Linked DNA regions of Homo sapiens: region 1 is linked to region 2. The links are contacts of gene promoters, found by promoter capture Hi-C in blood cells and fetal thymus (Javierre and others, 2016). All regions are on one chromosome and are shown on one strand. Each heading gives the region's core, a stretch centred on a gene start or on the middle of the fragment in contact. The rest is flanking DNA. Distances are from core to core; before and after follow the strand shown.

What was found. The method cuts DNA at HindIII sites, captures the fragments that hold promoters and counts their contacts. A CHiCAGO score of 5 or more calls a contact.
Region 1: a contact is called between a fragment that was not itself captured here and the fragment with the promoter of PRC1-AS1 in region 2, in 1 of 17 cell types (erythroblasts). The highest score is 7.3, in erythroblasts.

What each region holds. Positions count from the first base shown.
Region 1 is chr15:92,997,373-93,001,690 of GRCh38, reverse strand. It overlaps CHD2 (chromodomain helicase DNA binding protein 2), which reads right to left. Exons shown (of 39, transcript NM_001271.4): 30 at 4,288-4,318; 31 at 3,070-3,192; 32 at 1,051-1,179. Among named protein-coding and RNA genes, the nearest start is that of RGMA, 90 kb to the left of the region's middle. The HindIII fragment of the contact is 3,926 bases long and covers 1-3,555 here.
Region 2 is chr15:90,961,730-90,967,866 of GRCh38, reverse strand. PRC1-AS1 (PRC1 antisense RNA 1) reads right to left here and starts at 1,498. Exons shown (of 4, transcript NR_051984.1): 1 at 1,189-1,498. It overlaps PRC1 (protein regulator of cytokinesis 1), which reads left to right. Exons shown (of 15, transcript NM_003981.4): 15 at 665-1,827. The coding sequence ends at 736. It overlaps RCCD1 (RCC1 domain containing 1), which reads right to left. Exons shown (of 8, transcript NM_001017919.2): 8 at 4,742-6,137. The coding sequence ends at 6,098. The HindIII fragment of the contact is 668 bases long and covers 1,043-1,710 here.

The DNA.
Region 1 (4,318 bases), core at 343-2,842, 2.0 Mb before region 2:
ACAAAAACTAGCCAGGTGTGGTGGCAGGTGCCTGTAATCCTAGCTATTTGGGAGGCTGCGGCAGGAGAATCACTTGAACCCAGGAGGTGGAAGCTGCTGTGAGCCCAGATCGCGCCACTGCACTCTACCCTGGGTGACAAAGCAAGACTCCATCTCAAAAAGCAACTCATAATAAATAAATAAATATCTGTATGTATGACTCAAATCCATGCTAGTTCCTGTACACACTGCTGATCCTCTTGGAGCTAATATCCAAGTACAATTACACTCTCAGAAATTCCATAAAGTTGTCACTGAAATAGCACACTAAATGATACCAACTTACTATTCACTTTACTTAGACCAGAGGTTACAAACTGGCAAGCCAAACCTGACCCACAGGAGTTTTGTTAACAGAACTCCATAGCAGCTGCCCCCTTTACATTAGGCATGAGCTCTCTGGTTAACCACAGTCCTGACCACTCCCCGTCATTTGCAAGAATGAGGCTACGTGTCAATCGCCATTTATCATTAAAACTTTAGGACGGGCGCGGTGACTCACGCCTGTAATCCCAGCACTTTGGGAGGCCGAGGCAGGAAGATCACCTGAGGTCAGGAGTTTTGAGACCAGCCTGGCCAACATGGTGAAACCCCATCTCTACTTACAATACAAAAATGAGCCTGGCGTGGTGGCAGGTGCCTGTAATCCCAGCTACTTGGGAGGTTGAAGCAGGAGAATTGCTTGAACCTGGGAGGCAGAGATTGCAGCGAGCCAGGATTGTGCCATTGCACTCCAGCCTCGCGGACAAGAGCGAGACTTCATCTCAAAAACAAACAAACAAACAACAACAACAAAAATGTCATAGTCCCCTTCATTTACTTCCATTATGTACAAATTTGCAGTTGCTGACTTAAACTATCCTCGCTGACAGATTAAGCGAAGACTTACATATTCTATTTCCATTTAATCCACTCGTAAACCAAACACATTTCAGATGATTTTATTCCAGCTGGCATGATAAGTATAGCTAAAATAAATAAATAACCCTCAACCGAAACCCCACTTCATACTTTCACTTCTCCCTCTTCTGATGGATTATCTGAATGCCTAGGAGATGAAAGCTCAATTCCATGCTCCTCTTTCAGCCTGGGCACTTTGTTTTCCTTCTTTACCCGAGGCTTCCGCTTCTTTAATTTGGCCTGGAAAAGGAGAGAAAATGATGATTAAAATACAAATCAAGACACTCAAAAGCATAACCAAACAACATGATGACTCTTTAAAGCAGTAGCAGCCATATAATTCAAACAAGAAAATTCCAAAGAAATCAAAAGAGTGCAACTCATTTTACCTCACAAGACCAAACCAAAACAAATAAAAACCTATAGGCCTTATACATGGCCTATACCACATTAAAATGTCCATATTCCTTTTTCGTTTTTTTTTCCGAGATGGAGTCTTGCACTGTCACCCAGGCTGGAGTGTAGAGGTGCCATCTTGCCTCACTGCAACCTCTGCCTCCCGGGTTCAAGCGATTCTCCTGCCTCAGCCTCTCGAGTAGCTAAGTGGGACTACAAGCACATGCCACCACCACTGGCTAATTTTTTGTGTGTCTTTAGTAGAAACAGGGTTTCGCCATGTTGGTCAGGCTGGTCTCGAACTCCTGACTTCAGGTGATCCACCCACCTCAGCCTCCCAAAGTGCTGGGATTACAGGTGTGAGCCACCTTGCCAGCCAAAATATCCATATTCCTTAAACCTACTGATTCCACATCTTTGGAATCCATCCTAAAGACACAATTTTTTTTAAAAAAGGAAAATCACTCTGTATACAAAAGTACAAATAAAGATAATATATTAAAGACATAATAGTAACATTAAAAAACCTGAAAGCAAGTTACATATAATAAGGAAAAGGTTAAAATACTGTTTATCTGCCTAATCAGATATGATCTGTAACATGATCTAACCTCTGCCTTTCCAGAGCCTAACACATAATATATTGCATACTCAACATATTATATGAAGAATGAGACTTATGACCCTATTACTTGAAAAAAATGAGGTGTGGTATTATGGGTTTTTTTCCTCAAATTTGCTTTGCTTATAATAATACAGGGAAATCAATATAAATGACATAGCTGCAAGAGCACTTAAAGAACATGCACACATGGGCTGCTAGTACAGGGTGTAACTTGTATTTCTTAGCTGGGATTCCATCTTTCTGGGCCTGAACTGAAATTATAAATTGGGGAAACAAAAGGAGATAAAGCTCAGCTGAGTTCACTGAGAATTTAGTTGGTATTTCACACAGCAAGTAAGGTCTAGTTTCTGAATTAACTGTGCATTACAACTGTCCATTTTATCTCTGGGATCCACTATTACAAGAACCACAGAGACAGACAGAACAACAGGCAAACCCACAGGTATTCAATGCAGTAACTGCAACTATGTTCCAAAATTGAGAAAGTAGGATAAAGAAACAGTAACAGTATGTGTGGAATAGTGGGACTGGGGAGCAGAGGATGAATTTGAAGCAACATTTCAGAAGGATGGGTTTGTAAGAAAGCTGCCAAGATGCCGTGGTCTTAAATGAATTTTTTTTTTTTTTTTTTTTTTTTTTTTTTTTTTGAGACGGAGTCTCGCTCTGTTGCCCAGGCCGGAGTGCAGTGGCCCGAACTCGGCTCACTGCAAGCTCCGCCTCCCGGGTTCACACCATTCTCCTGCCTCAGCCTCCTAAGTAGCTGGGATTACAGGCGTGTGCCACCACGCCCGGCTAATTTTTTTGTATTTTTAGTAGAGACGGGGTTTCACCATATTAGCCAGGATGGTCTCAATCTCCTGACCTTGTGATCCGCCCGCCTCAGCCTCCCAAAGTGCTGGGATTACAGGCATGAGCCACTGCGCCAGGCCTAAATGAACATTTCTATTATTACCAAGCAAAGCATCATTACTGGAACCTCAAAAACAAAATATGCCCATGAGAAGGTGACATTCTGTGCAGTGCTCAGAGAGGGCCTCTCTCTTCCTACCTAATTCTGCAGGGTAGGAGCCTCAGGCCCCTGAAAAACAACCAGCTGGCAGCGTACTCACCTCTTCCCCACCTGTCACAGCCCCCTTCTTCTCCAGACCCTTTCTGAGCAGCTTCAACAAGTAATCCGCTCGGGTCTGTAGCTGCTTCCCCTGAGGCTTTTTATCTGTCTCCACCGGCAGAATCTTCAACAAGAAAGGAAGAGAAGCACCCGCCACCACCCACATCCTGGTTAGTGGATCAGGATAAACAGAGACAACAAAAACTGAGCACAGTCCTTTCCCTCCCCAACCACCCAAAATATAGATAAAGCCTCAGATCCTATCTCATGTCCATGGCTCCCAGTCACTGAAAATCCCTCACGAGCCGTTCTCATTTTACAAAATGGGATGGAGAAATCCAGCTCTCCCAATGGCTCCTACCTGTGCTGTTAACAGGGTAGAACAACTCAGGTAGGAGGGGCTTGTGGCTTCATCTGCTAGAGCATCCCAGCCGTCGTGGATTTCCTCCTTCCAGGAGCAGGGAATCCCTGGAGCTAGGTTAAAGCTTCGTTTTAGATTGAAAATGCTTCTTAGAGCATTGCCGGAGAGCACTGAGCTACGCCAGGACATGATCTGTTCCTTGCTACAACAACTGGGTCTCTTGCCAGACTGAATCTGGTCTCAGTGCTTAAGGCAGGGTGCTGTCACCCTCCTAAAACCAGATGGGATGAGCACTGTTGAACTGCCAGGAGCACAACATGGAGCAAATCCTACCAAAATTTGAGCCAGTCAGCCTTCCCTGCTTATAGCTCCAACCATGGCCTTGCTACTTGCAACAGATAGGGTGGGAGGCTCGATTTTGTGGGAGAAGAACAGCCAATGTTTAATTCCATTACAAAGAATACCAAGGTGACATTCAATCTTTACGTGAGGAAGTGAAATATGGTTGTTTCAAATGTACTTTTAAACAAAGGGCCAATAACTAAGGCCAAGGAATGCTTTTATCATTAACAAACTCACCTGGGTATTTATTGTAATGAAATCTGACCTATAATTAAATACCAGAATTTTAAGATTTCTCCTACAGTTTCCCCAAAATTTCACCTGGCTACTGTCTTTTCCCTTTATCTTCATCCGTGAAACAGTGCCACAATCTGCTAAAGATGGAAGTATTTCCAAGAATGACTATACTAATTTCTAATTTGATGCCCCCTCGAAAATAGTTAGAAATAAGTAATCGATATAAAAATATTACACAACAAATCTTCTAGAAATCTCTAGCATGGTAGGGTTACTTACTTTGTCAGTTAATTTAAGCTCTGGGTCTGTT
Region 2 (6,137 bases), core at 249-2,748:
GACAACTCTAAAGTAGCTCTGTGAAGTAGAGTCATGCCTCGCTTAATGACAGGGATATGTTCTGAGAATGTGGGGCAATTTCATTGTGCACATATCAGAGTGTACTTAACAGTCCTAGACAGAACAGCCTACACACCTAAACTATATGGTATGGCGTTTTCCTCCTAGGCTACAAACCTGGGCAGCATGTTACAGAAAGAATACTGTAGGCAATTGTGGGTTTTTTTGATTCAGGCTATTCCTGGGATACTGTAGGCAATTGTAACGCAATGGTAAGTATTTGTGTATCTAAACATAGAAAAGGTACAGTAAAAATATGGTATAATCTTATGGGACCACCATAGTGTATGTGGCCTGTCGTTAACTGAAACATCATTATGCAGTGCATGACTGTATGAAGGATTTCTCTTCTGTGAGGTGTAACAGAATGGACTGGCTGAGGAAAAAGGGGTCACGGGCATGCGTGCACATGCACTCTGTCTGTGACTAATAGAATGGTGCTCAGAGTTCCTCACCTTTTACTCCTAACGCAGCCTATTGCAGGCTAGGGATCTCAGAGAAACTACCTTCAAGGGACCTTTTGCTGACACTTAACCAAACTTAGAAGGGTGGGCCATGTGTAAGAGAGGCAGTATGGCCACTGATGTTATTTATTTTTCAACAGCGAGAACTTTCAAAGGCTTCCAAATCTGATGCTACTTCTGGAATCCTCAATTCAACCAACATCCAGTCCTGAGAAGCCCTGATCAGTCAACCAGCTGTGGCTTCCTGTGCCTAGACTGGACCTAATTATATGGGGGTGACTTTAGTTTTTCTTCAGCTTAGGCGTGCTTGAAACCTTGGCCAGGTTCCATGACCATGGGCCTAACTTAAAGATGTGAATGAGTGTTACAGTTGAAAGCCCATCATAGGTTTAGTGGTCCTAGGAGACTTGGTTTTGACTTATATACATGAAAAGTTTATGGCAAGAAGTGCAAATTTTAGCATATGGGGCCTGACTTCTCTACCACATAATTCTACTTGCTGAAGCATGATCAAAGCTTGTTTTATTTCACCACTGTAGGAAAATGATTGACTATGCCCATCCCTGGGGGTAATTTTGGCATGTATACCTGTAACTAGTAATTAACATCTTTTTTGTTTAGGCATGTTCAATTAATGCTGTAGCTATCATAGCTTTGCTCTTACCTGAAGCCTTGTCCCCACCACACAGGACAGCCTTCCTCCTGAAGAGAATGTCTTTGTGTGTCCGAAGTTGAGATGGCCTGCCCTACTGCCAAAGAGGTGACAGGAAGGCTGGGAGCAGCTTTGTTAAATTGTGTTCAGTTCTGTTACACAGTGCATTGCCCTTTGTTGGGGGTATGCATGTATGAACACACATGCTTGTCGGAACGCTTTCTCGGCGTTTGTCCCTTGGCTCTCATCTCCCCCATTCCTGTGCCTACTTTGCCTGAGTTCTTCTACCCCCGCAGTTGCCAGCCACATTGGGAGTCTGTTTGTTCCAATGGGTTGAGCTGTCTTTGTCGTGGAGATCTGGAACTTTGCACATGTCACTACTGGGGAGGTGTTCCTGCTCTAGCTTCCACGATGAGGCGCCCTCTTTACCTATCCTCTCAATCACTACTCTTCTTGAAGCACTATTATTTATTCTTCCGCTGTCTGCCTGCAGCAGTACTACTGTCAACATAGTGTAAATGGTTCTCAAAAGCTTACCAGTGTGGACTTGGTGTTAGCCACGCTGTTTACTCATACAGTACGTGTCCTGTTTTTAAAATATACAATTATTCTTAAAAATAAATTAAAATCTGTATACTTACATTTCAAAAAGATATAGTGTGGTGTTTCCTTTTTTTCCCCAGTCACTTTTTAGTTGGTTGGTCTGTGTGTGAAAAACAAACACAAAAAACTAAAAGGACCTCCTGGAAATTTTTAGTCAGGAGTGTGATTTTTTTTTTTGAGTCTCACTCTGTCGCCCAGGCTGGAGTACAGTGGCACTATCTTGGTTCAGTGCAACTTCCACCTCCCAGGTTCAAGCGATTCTCCTGCCTCAGCCTCCCGATTTGCTGGGATTACAGGCACGCACCATCACACCTGGCTAATTTTTGTATTTTTAGTAGAGACAGGCTTTCACCATGTTGGCCAGGCTGGTCTTGAACTCCTGACCTCAGATGATCTGCCTGCCTCCCAAAGTGCTGGGATGACAGGCATGAGCCACAGCACCCGGCCGAGTGTGATTTTTAAAATATTCTCTGGTACATTTCTAAATTAAGAATATCTCTTACTCTAATTTTTTGGTGAGAAATATAAAACCTAACCCCTGATGTGTAGAGAGCAAAGGGAGTCCTAGGATGCTTCTGGCTTCAATGCCGTTTGTCTCAATATGGGGAGGCTGCCCAACTTCAACAGCGTTACTGAAGGAGGATGGACATAAACTGCACACATGTGAAGCGTAAGAGAAAAACCATCGCCACAGTCCAGTTAACCAAGTCTCTCTACCCCAGCAGTTCTTCCCACCCCTTTCTCACTCCTCCTTCCCAGCCTCACCCTGCCGAGCAACCACTGATTTTTTTTTTTTTTTTTTTTTTTTTTTTTGAGATGGAGTCTCGCTCTTGCCAGGCTGGAGTGCAGTGGCACAATCTCAGCTCACTGCAATCTCTGCCTCCCAGGTTCAAGGGATTCTCCTGCCTCAGCCTCCCGCGTAGCTGGGACTGCAGGCACGTGCCATCACGCCTGGTAAATTTTTGTATTTTTGGTACAGACAGACAGGGTTTCACTGTATTAGCTAGGATGGTCTCGATCTCCTGACCTCATGATCCGCCCACCTCGGCCTCCCAAAGTGCTAGGACTACAGGCATGAGCCACTGTACCTGGCCCACCGATTTGTTACTACAGATTAGTTTGCGTTTTCTACAGTTCGATGTAAGTAGAATCATACAGTATATATTTTTTTGGTCTGGTTCTTTCACTACTTTCAGATTTACCCATATTGTTGCTTATATCCATAATTCTTTTTTTTTTTTTTTTTTTTTTTTTTTTTTTTTTTTGCTTAGTATTCCATGGTGTTGATATACCAGTTTATTCGCCTGTTAGGTTTATTTTTCACATTTGGCTTTTCTCCAGTTTTTGGCTATTAAAAACAAGGCTGTTATAAACATTCATGTACAAGTCTTTGTATGGATATATTTTTTTTTCTGGATAAATACCTAGGAGTGAAATGGCTGGATCACATCTATGGTATGTGTACACTTAACTTTTTAAGAAATGCCAAACTGGGCCGGGCATGGTGGCTCACGCCTGTAATCCCAGCACTTTGGGAGGCTAAGGTGGGCAGATCACGAGGTCAGGAGTTCGAGACCAGCCTGGCCAACATGGTGAAACCCCATCTCTACTAAAAATACAAAAATTAGCTGGCTGTGGTGGCACACACCTGTAATCTCAGCTATTCAGGAGGCTGAGGAAGGAGAATTCCTTGAACTCAGGAGGCGGAAGTGGCAGTGAGCTGAGATTGCACCACTGCACTCTAGCCTGGGCAACAGAGCAAGACTCCATCTTAAAAAAGAAGAAATGCCAAACTGTTTTCCAAAGCAGTTGTACCATTTTACATTCCTACCAGTAATGTATGAAGGTTCCAGTTTCTCCACATCTTCACCAACAGTTGGTATGTTCAGCCTTTATGTAATTCTAGTTATTCTGTGTATGGAGTGGTGTCTCACTATGGTTTTCATTTACAACTCCCTAATGACTAATGATGTAGAGCATCTTCTCATATGCTCACTTGCTATCCTTCTGTCGTCTTTGTTGACTTTTGTCCATTTTAAAAAATGGCTTGGCCAGGCATGATGGCTCATGCCTATAATCCTAGTACTTTGGGAGGCTAAGGCAAGTGGATCGCTTCAGCCCAGCAGTTTGAGACCAGCCTGGGCAATATGCAACAACCCCATCTCTACTAAAAATACAAAAAACTAGCCAGATGTGGTGGCACGTGCCTGTAGCCCCAGCTACCCGGGAGGATGGCTTAAGCCCAGAAGGTGGAGGCTGTACTCCAGCCTGGACAACAGAGAGACCCTGTCCAAAAAAAAAAAAAAAAACCCACAATGAAATACCACTTCACACCCATTAGGATGGCTGTTAACCAGAAATAGAAAACAAGTGTGGACGCGGATGTGGAGAAATTAGGATTTGTGTGCACTTCCAGTGGGGATGTAAAATGATGCAGCCTCTGTGGGAAACAGGGCAGTTCCTCAAAAAAATTTAGAATTACCACACAATCCAGCAATTCCACTCTGGGTATATATCCAAAAGAACTGAAAGCAGAGACTCAAGAGAGTTGTACACCCATGTTCCCAGCAACATTATTGACTGTAGTGAACAACTCAGATATCCACCAATGCACGGATGAATAAAACGCAGTGTATACATACAACAGAATCTTAGCCTTTAAAAGGCAGGAAGTCTAGATACATAAGCTACATCATGGATGAACTTGGAGGACATGCTGCTAAGTGAGATAAGCCAGTCATAAAAAGACAAATACTATGGGATTTCACTTACATGAGGCACTTACAGTATCATAGGAACAGAAGGTTAGGACTGTGGTTGCCTGGGGCTGGGGAAGGGGAGACTGACGAGTTAAGTGTTTAATGCACAGAGTTTCAGCATAGAATGATGAAAAAGTTCTGGAAATGCATAGGGGTGACGGTTGCACAACAGTGAATGCATATAATGTCACTGAACTATGTACTTAAAATGGTTAAAAACAATTTTTGTTTTTTATTGAACATAAATTTTATGTTCAGTATATTTTACCACAATAAAAAAGACCCCATGGGTGGGAAACATTTGCTAAACCACAGACACACACATGCACAAATAGAATTTAACTATAAAGAAAACTACTGATAAGCTTATTTTATCAAAATAAGTTGATACTTGTAAAGCACTTTGAGCCTTACCTGGCATGGAGTAAGCATCACCTAAGTATTAAAATTGGTAATACCAAGAGAGACTGAAACAAACTACATTGTAGCAGAAGATACTCTGAATACTAACTCTCAAAAGACTTGTATCTGAAATATCCAAAAGAAAAATCACTAAGGAAAATACAGAACATTTTAAAAGGCCAGAAAACTTGAACAGGCACTTGACAACAGAAAAACTCCAAGTGGCCAATAAACATATGAACTCTTCGCCTCAAGCAATCTCCCTGCTTAGCCTCCCAAAGTGCTGGGACTACAGGTGTGAGCCACCATGCCCAGCCATCCAAAACAAATGAAAAGCTACTCAACCTCATCAGTATCCAGGGAAATGCCAATTAAAACCAGTGTGCATCTACCTGACATTTTAGCCACAGTAGACCCCACCCTGCTGGGGGCAACAGTTATCTAGTAAAATTAAAGGTATCTCCTGACTTAGCAATTCAACTCAATGTTCTGCAAAGGAACTTGTGCACATGTGCAGAAGACTGCACAAAGAATTATGTGGAATGACCAAAATCAGAAACAATAAAAATGACCATCAACAAGGCTGTATCACTTGAGGTATTATTCATACAACAGAACACCATATAGCATTAAAAATGAACTCCAGGACCCAACAAGGATGGATTATACAATGCTGAGTGACAAAAACGACACAAAAGCACATACACAGGATTCCATTTATCTAACACTCAAAAGCAAACACAACTATGTCGTATAAGGCTGCATACAAGAATGGTAAAATTCAAACGAAAGCAGGGAAATGACTGACAGAAGACGATGACCTGGAATGTGCCCCAATCTCAGCTGCACATCAAATGTACCTGGGATGAGGTGGGTGGAGCTTTGAATCTACCACTATCCAGGCCACACACCTAGAAGCTCTGGTTTCATTGTTTCATTGATTTCATTGTTTTGATTGATGCTGACCTTAGGCAGCAGAGTTTTCAATGCTCTCCAGGTGTTTCTAAAGTGCAGACAAGTTTAGGACCGTGCTTGAGGGTGAAGGGCAGGACTGTGATGGGGAGGGGCAAATATGGGGCCCTTGGGGTGCAGGCAATGGTTTTCCTTGACCTGAATGGGGGTCTCACAGGTGTTGCATATACATATACGTACACATGTCAGCTCTTCCCTTTCTCCACAGCATACACGTAGGTGTTC